Linked DNA regions of Homo sapiens: region 2 is linked to region 1. Evidence: promoter capture Hi-C in human tissues and cell types (Jung and others, 2019). All regions are on one chromosome and are shown on one strand. Each heading gives the region's core, a stretch centred on a gene start or on the middle of the fragment in contact. The rest is flanking DNA. Distances are from core to core; before and after follow the strand shown. Region 1 holds the start of AGO3 (argonaute RISC catalytic component 3). Region 2 overlaps PSMB2 (proteasome 20S subunit beta 2).

The links. The method cuts DNA at HindIII sites, captures the fragments that hold promoters and counts their contacts. A contact is called where the count stands out against the background at its distance.
Region 2: a contact is called between a fragment that was not itself captured here and the fragment with the promoter of AGO3 in region 1, in 1 of the 25 tissues and cell types used here (adrenal gland).

Annotation. Positions count from the first base shown.
Region 1 is chr1:35,929,720-35,933,770 of GRCh38, forward strand. It overlaps AGO3 (argonaute RISC catalytic component 3), which reads left to right and starts at 1,386. Exons shown (of 19, transcript NM_024852.4): 1 at 1,386-1,726. The coding sequence starts at 1,708. It overlaps AGO1 (argonaute RISC component 1), which reads left to right. Exons shown (of 19, transcript NM_012199.5): 19 at 1-813. RefSeq lists enhancers at 1,002-1,525, 1,526-2,050, 2,051-2,573 and silencers at 1,029-1,538, 1,549-1,888. The HindIII fragment of the contact is 14,720 bases long and covers 1-4,051 here.
Region 2 is chr1:35,626,358-35,630,408 of GRCh38, forward strand. All of the region lies in intron 3 of PSMB2 (proteasome 20S subunit beta 2), which reads right to left. Among named protein-coding and RNA genes, the nearest start is that of PSMB2, 13 kb to the right of the region's middle. The HindIII fragment of the contact is 9,137 bases long and covers 1-4,051 here.

The DNA.
Region 1 (4,051 bases), core at 136-2,635:
TGGTTTTGAGTCCCATACATTTATTGTTTAATATTATATGGTAAGTACTTTAAAATGGTAAATAGTAAATACTTGTGTTATTCACTAACATTTGGGGAGGATTTTCTCTGTGCTTTATGTATATTACCTAACCTTACAAACTGTGTAAGGTACATGCTGTTCTCTCAATTTTTCAGATAAGAAAATTGAAGCCCAGAGAGATCAAGTGACTGATCCAAAGTCCCACAGTGAGGGGAACTGAAGATAGGATATTCTTTCTCCTTTTCCTCTTTAAAAAATTATTTTGATTAAAAAAAACCGTATTACTGAAGCATAGGGACATGGGGAGAAATTATGAATGATTCCTCAGCCTGAATAAAATAGTATGTTTCATTAAGGCAACAAATATTTATTAAGGACCTAATATTTGCCTGACATTCAAGTGAGGTGGGGGGCACACAAGTAGTAAATAAATAACAGACTGGGCAAAGGGCTACCAAGGCAATACTGTAGTAGACTAACAGGTGCCCCACCATAGATGGGTGGTCCGGAAAAGGCGTCTCAGATGTCTTTCGTTGAGACGCAAAAAAAAGCTGTGGGGTAGGGCGTAAGGGGAGGGTGGAGAAGAGAGAGAGGGTTCCTGGCCAAGGGAACCAAAAGCAGAGAAGCTCCAAGTCAGAAAAAAGCAGCGGTTGGCCCGTTGGGAGAATTGGAAGCCAACCAGTATAGCTGTAGCACAGGCGGGGCCCATTTACGCCGTGCGTTTTCACCCTGGAAAGGAGTTTGGGTTTTCAAGTGTGACGAGGCGCTATTAAAGAGTTTTAAACATGGAAATTACTCGATCTGATGTTTGTGTAGTGTCCTGTTTGTTAGTCATCTTTTCCAAACTATAATACATTTTTTTTTTCCTAAAAATGGTCGTTAAAGCAGCCTAGGACTTAGGTCAATTGCGGTGGTCACTTGACCGCCTGTGAGGAGGCGGCGCGTGGGGTGGATCGGACTGGGCGTGGCGGGGGCTCAGGAAGGAGGGTGGCCCTACCCCAGCGGGCTCGGCTCGGGGCCTCCGCGGCAGTTCGGGGTCCTTCACCCGCCGGCTCCAGGTAGGCTACTCCTCAGGTAAGCCCCGCCGCCAGCCGCGACGTCGTCGCAGACAGGCACCGCCCCCACTCGTGCGGCGCGAGTAGTCCTGCCCCTCCGCGTTGTCTCCGGCCGGCACGGCCCGGCGGGGTACGGCCGAGCCCGCCGCATGTGGCCCGGCTCCCGGACACCTCCCCGGCGTCCTCCGCGCCGGCCGCTCCTGCCCCGACGTCGCTCCGGCACGGCTCGGGGCCCAGAGGCGAGGCGAGGACGCCGGGCAAGCCAGGCAGCGGAACTGACGCCGGCGAGCTTCCGGGGCGGCCCCGGGCAGGTCGGCGGCGGCGGCCCGCAGTCGTGGAGGAGCGGTGGGAGCGTCGGCGGCCGCGGGCGATGCAACTTCCGGACGGGACTCCCCTCTGTCCGCGCCTCACATCTCCCCTTCCTCTCGCCTAGTCCTGTGCCGTTTTCCGTCCGCGACTCTTCCGGCCCAGAGCTTTCGGAGTGCGGTTGCTCAGGGGAAGCCGTCGCCGCCCCCGCCTCGGGGCCGAGTGAGAGTGCCCGTCGCGTCGCGCCGCGTCGCCCCCCGGGCCGCCTCCTTGCCGCCAGTGGCGGGCTCCGTTCTCCCTCGAAGCACTCCCCCCAGCTCCATGAATGGAAATCGGCTCCGCAGGTGAGTCAGAGTAGCTGGGCCAGGTAGGGGATGTCACCCAGCTACTGTCCTCTGAGCATCCCTGCTCCTCCCGCCCGGCCCAGGTGCGCGAGGTGAGCGTCGGGCGGGCATCGCTCGGTCTCCCGCCCCTCGCCCTGCTCCTCCGCGACCTCCCCGCAGCCCAGCCCCAGTTCCCCGGGGGCCCCTGAGTCGGCGAAACTGCGAGGCGGGGAAACGCTTGGAGGATTTAAGTTTGGGGTTATCTAGGCGGCATTACTCTTTGCTGGAGTACCCTTCTTCTAGACTTTAGAATGGTTTGCCATTGTCTAGTTGGAGTGCGTGTCCTTTAGCCAGGTTGTGTGTTCCGTAGAGGCTGGGCAGCCAGCCAGCTCCCTTACCTACCTCTTAGGATAGTTGTGAAGATAGGCTGAGATAACGGATAACTTCAGATTAAGTTCGAAGGAGGTGTTGGTGCAACGTTAAATTCAACATGGCATTGCTCCTACCCTCGAGTTCTTTTCTGTTGTTTGTGGCAGCATGGTAGATAGTTTCTGAGGAGCTTGGAAATGTCATAGCAGCCTGGATCCCTGCTTATACGAGGAGGTGGTTCTTAAAATTGCTGACAGTATATTTTTTTTCATTCTCTATTCCTTAGAGAAGTAGTTGTCATATTCCTGGAAATTTGGAATTTAAGAAAACTGCTTTATCTCTGGGGGCAAGAGCAGCAGTTTTGCAGTCTTAAGAGAAAATTGCAACATGGATAGTACTTGTCCTTAAAAAAGGAAAAGTATTGTTTATGGTTCTAAAGTAATTAATTCAGGGACAGAAAGGTGTTGCATAACGGTTTGCCTAACAAATGATCATGCTTGGCTTATTAAATTTGAAAGTATGCTTCAGACGATCACAAGTTCGTAAATTAATTTTCAAAATATTTGCGGGGCTGTCTTGTTACTAATGGTGTTACAAGTTCCTGAATTCCATATCTCTTTTTGCCAATTTGATATAAGAAAAACTTACGTAAAAGAAACCAGTGACATAACGATAGCTAAGAACTTTGTTGAATAGATTACGTGTCAAATGGTTGCAAAAAAGCACTCAAACTGGGGAGATGAGATGGGGAGAGAGTTACAAATTTTTTTTTTTTTTTTTTACAAATTTTGTTACATGGAAGTTTCTCTAATCAATTTAGACCATATCTCTTTTTCCTGCTCCATTGTTTCGCTTTCCCCCATATCGTCTTAAAAGGTCTGTCTGGATTGTGAAAAGATTTCGACTCTTATTCAGTTTTGATTTGTGTATTTCTGAAACTGTCCTGCCCTTTTAAAAAAATTACCATACTACTGTTTTACTGTACAGGAGATGTGATTATTTGGGACCATAGGTGATCTTTGTACATAACTGTCCTGTTGTCAAGTCTGGAAAACAAGTCATGAAGGTCAGACCCTTTATTAATCATCCCAAAACTTTTAAAGATATTTCAAAAAAGTTTTTAAAGTTTTTTCTTTTTCTCCTTAGGGTTTTTCATATGATATTGTGCCCATATATATGGGAAATGTCTTAGAAAACATTTGTTACATCAAACCACCTAGTCAACTGGTACAACTAAGCCAAGTACAGCTCAGAAAATACATTTTACCTCTTCTTTTTTGGGTGTCCCATTGCTGAAATGGATACCCATTTAGCTGTCTTCACATTTGGGGAAGTGTGTAGTTAGATTATCAACTATATGCCTGGGTCTCTTGAAAAGTAAAGTTTTTTCTTCAGTACAGTTTATACATGATTGAATGTAGCCTAATAATGAAGATAAGCTATACTTTGGCTCAAGATTGTCATCAGAAACAAAATTTTCATTATTCCTGAGACTTGTATATAATTGGTATGCTTAGCTTTAAGTTGAAAGCATAGCTGTGCAACTAAATTTTAAATCCATAATTTAGGCTGGGTGTGGTGGTTCATGCCTGTAATCTCAGCACTTTGGGAGGCTGAGGAAGGATGATCGCTTGAGCCCAGCAGTTGGAGACCAGCCTAGGTAACATAGTGAGACCTGCCTCTACAAAAAACAGAAAACTTAGCCGAGAATTGTGGCACATGTCTCCAGTCCTAGCTACTTGGGAGGCTGAGGCAGGAGAATGGATTGAGCCCAGAAGGCAGAGATTGCAGTGAGCTATGATCGCGCCACTAACTCCAGCCTGGGTGACGGAGCAAGACCCTGTCTCAAAAAAAAAAAAAAAAAAAAAAAAAAAAAAAATCATCATTTGACACGTATTTTGATTTTAAAATTTTAGTATAAATGTTCTCAAAAAGTCTATTGACTCAGTATTGAATCTTGGCTTTCCAATTCTGCCA
Region 2 (4,051 bases), core at 492-2,991, 300 kb before region 1:
TATTCCATTCATTAAGAATTCCCTTCCAGTGTATAAATGCATAATTAATATTCTCAGCAGAATATATAGACCTAGCTGGATGACACTTTTTCAGCAAACACTTATTGAAAACCTACAATGGACATATATTCAAACTTATCTATATAATACTATGTGCAATTTCGACATTTTAACAAAACTGAACATTTCATGTTTCCCTAAATGCACAAATACACTTGTACATTAGTCCACTAATTAATAAAGAAGACACCATGAAAGAGTTTGATATTTGAAGCTGGAATCTTAACCTTTAACATAGTATATATGTGCTTTGGAAACATATCTAAGAGAAATACTTAACATCCTTGTAAGTAAAATGGGGATAACACACATCTTATGGTGTCATAATAAGGATACTTAATAACAGATACATATGTAAGTATTTAGAATAGCACTGTCCAAGAGAACTTCTATGATGATGGATATGTTCCAGATCTGTGATGTCTAATACAATAGTTGTGGCTATTGGGTACCTGAAATGTGGCTGTGACTGAGGAACAGAATTTTTTTTTTTAAGAACAAAAGTTGATTTAGCATTCAGGCAAAGTCTACCAGGAGATTTTCCACCAGAAACTGAATTTTAAGTTTTATTTAATTTTAATTAACTTAAATTTAAATAGCCCCATGTGGCTAGTTGGCTACCATACTGGACTGTGTAGATCTAGAAAAATCCTAGCACATAATATATGTTCAATGTTATTTTACTTCTATTTTCCCTATCAATACCAGCATGGTGGCTTGGCGCCTGTAGTTCCAGCTATTTGGGAGGCTGAAGTGGGAGTATTGTTTGAGCCCGGGAGGTTGAGGCTGCAGTGAGCTGTGACTGTGCCACCTCTTAGGTGACAGAGCGAGACCCTATCTCAAAAAAAAAAAAAAAAAAAAAAAAGCACAACAAATGATCCCTCACGAAAAACTAACTTATAGCCATTAAATTGCTTCTTTGACCAAACAGCAATCGCAGCATAAAAACACAAGTGGGCTGGGCATGGTGGCTCATGCCTGTAATCCTAGCACTTTGGGAAGCAGAAGCGGGAGGATTGCTTGAGCCCAGGAGTTCGGGACCAGCCTGGCAACATGGAGAAACCCCATCTCTACAAAAAATTAGCCAGGCATAGTGGTATGCACCTACAGTCCCAGCTGCCAGGGAGGCTGAGGTGGAAGGATCATCTGGGCCTGAAAGGTCAAGGGGCTGCAGAGAGCTGTGGTCATACCACTGCACTCCAGCCTAGATGACAGAGTGAGATCCTGTCTCAAAAAAAAAGTAAGAGCTTTGCATTATTACCTTATTTAATCTTCATAATAACTTTTTGAAATTGGTAAGTAGGGAAATTAAGCTTAGAATTTGTCCAAAGACATCCAGCTAGTAAGTCAGTAAGCAAATATTCAAACCCAGGTAGTCCAATTCCAGAGACTATGCTCTTAACCACAATGCTAAATTGCCTACATTTTAATGAACCAGTTTATGTAAGATTCATTATATACTCAGTGGTAGTAAATGTCCTCCCAACCAAACCACCACACATACACAGAGCAAATTAGAAATCAAACAATTTGAGCTACAGACACAGAAGTTATACATGGTAACTGGCTGACCCAAAATGAGTCACATCTGCCAACTGGTGTGACCATATAAATATACTAAATTTGGTGACTTTGCACTTATTAGGAACACTGACAAACTATCATCTCTCTTCCCAGAATAAGACGACTAAAATATAAATTCATATTTTAGAACTAAGAATCTATTTTGATAAGGAGATGGGGGAGCAGAGATTGGACCTACTGGAAAAGCTCAGGCAGAGGTAGTCAATATTTACCAGAGCCCCATGTCACTGTCTACAAGGGATATTTGTTAAGACATCAAACATTTCTGCTAGGAGAAGATTAAACCAGATTCACTGCATTTGCATGAAGCACACTGCCATTCTTATCTCAATTCCAAAAAGGAGCTTAATTCACTTAATGTCTGTGATATTTATGACACAGTATTTATTGTGCCCAAAGCTGGAATTCTTACTCCGGTTCTGCCTGATAAGTCAGAGGAACATCGTACATGGCAAGTCATAAAATGCTGAACACCACAGGAACTTCTGGGTGACAGAAAAACTAATATCTGACCCATTTTCCTTTCTCAAGGAGGAGTGAAGAAAAGACCACTTGGTGACAATGACTTTCTTGGAAGAAAAAAAAAAAAAAAAAAATATATATATATATATATATATATATATATATATATTTTTTTTTTTTTTTTTAAAGAAAAGACTACTGATCTTTCACCCAGGACAAAACAATGTATGTAAATTTGCCTCCTCCTCTCAATCCTACATGTCTCTAGCTTCTCTTCAAACTTCATGATCCCTCAGATTGTACAAGCCCTTGGTCAAAGCTAGCACTGAGAGGTACTATTTATTGAGAAATTATCAGTCAAAGATTATTAGGCACTAGAAAATAAACTGCTTTATAGATCTGTAGTAAGTAACTTTAAAAAAAGTAACTTGTTATTTTAAGCAAGTACAGATGAAAACTCAAACCATAATAAAAATATGAATAGCATCAGTGTTCTAGAAACACTACTGAAGAACCAAAGGCAGAATAGTCAAATAATTATGGCACCATTATTTTAGCTTTGTCTGACCTGCTGTGTGACCTGGAGCTAGTCCCTTTGACACTTTATGCCTTTCACTTCATCTCAGTGATAGAGACTATCTTTCTCAGTGGAATAGTGAGTAGATTAAATTATTAAGCAAAATGCTTTGGGCAAAAGTCACATGAATGTTAAATATTATGATTTACAAGCATTCATTTTCCTGGCACCCCTGTGGGGTTAGGAAGTTATCTCCATTTCATAGATAAGTAAACAGGCACAGGGGGTGAGATCACGTGGTAAGGCTCTATTTATTTAGTCCCTGTGGGAAGGGAATAACACACACCTTTAGCAACCATATGAACTTTCCTAGCACATCCTACACAATCTTTAATGCATTCAATCCTTAACTTAGTGTTGCATCTTTTAACATGCTGTCGATGAAATGGAGACAGCTCTAGAATAGCAACAAGGCTAGAATAAGTAAGGAGGAACAATGCTGTATGCTTTGGGAAAAAGTCATAGAAAAACACAGGTAAGTACGCCAGGTACAGTGAGTGGCTCATTCCTATAATCCCAGCACCCTGAAAGGCCAAGGCCAGCAGATTGCTTGAGTCCAGGAGTTCAAGACCAGCCTGGGCCACATGGTGAAATCCTGCCTCCACTAAAAATACAAAAAATTAGCCAGATGTGGTGGTGCACACCTGTAGTCCCAGCTACTTGGGAGGCTGAGGTGGGAGAATCACCTGAACCCGGGAAGTTGAGGCTTCAGTAAGCTGAGATCACACCACTACACTCCAGCCTGGGCAACTGGAGTGAGACCCCGTCTCAAAAAAAAAAAGAAAAAAGAAAAAGAAAAAAAGAGAAACACAGATAAGCAATCTCGAGATAAAAATCCACATTACCGGCCAGGTGCGGTGGCTCGCGCCTGTAATCCCAGCACTTTGGGAGGCCAAGGCGGGCAGATCACCTGAGATCAGGAGTTCGAGACCAGCCTGACACCTGACCAACATGGAGAAACCCCGTGTCTGCTAAAAATACAAAATTAGCTGGGCGTGGTGGTGCATGCCTGTAATCCCAGCTACTTGGGAAATGGAGGCAGGAGAATCACTTGAACCCAGGAGGCAGAGGTTCCAGTAAGCCAAGATTGCACCATTGCACTCTAGTTTGGGCAACAAGAGTGAAACTCCATCTCAAAAAAATAAAAATAAAAATAATCTGAATTATTATTTTCAAAGTTCTACTTTCACTAACACATAGAGACTTTCAGTCACAGGTATTAAGTAATATGGTTTGTTACAAAAACACTTTGAAAAAACTAAACGTACTCTTACTATATGATCCAGCAATCACACTCCTTGGTATTTACGCAAAAAAAAACTTATGTTCAAACAAAAACCTGCACATGGATGTATACATTAGCTTTAT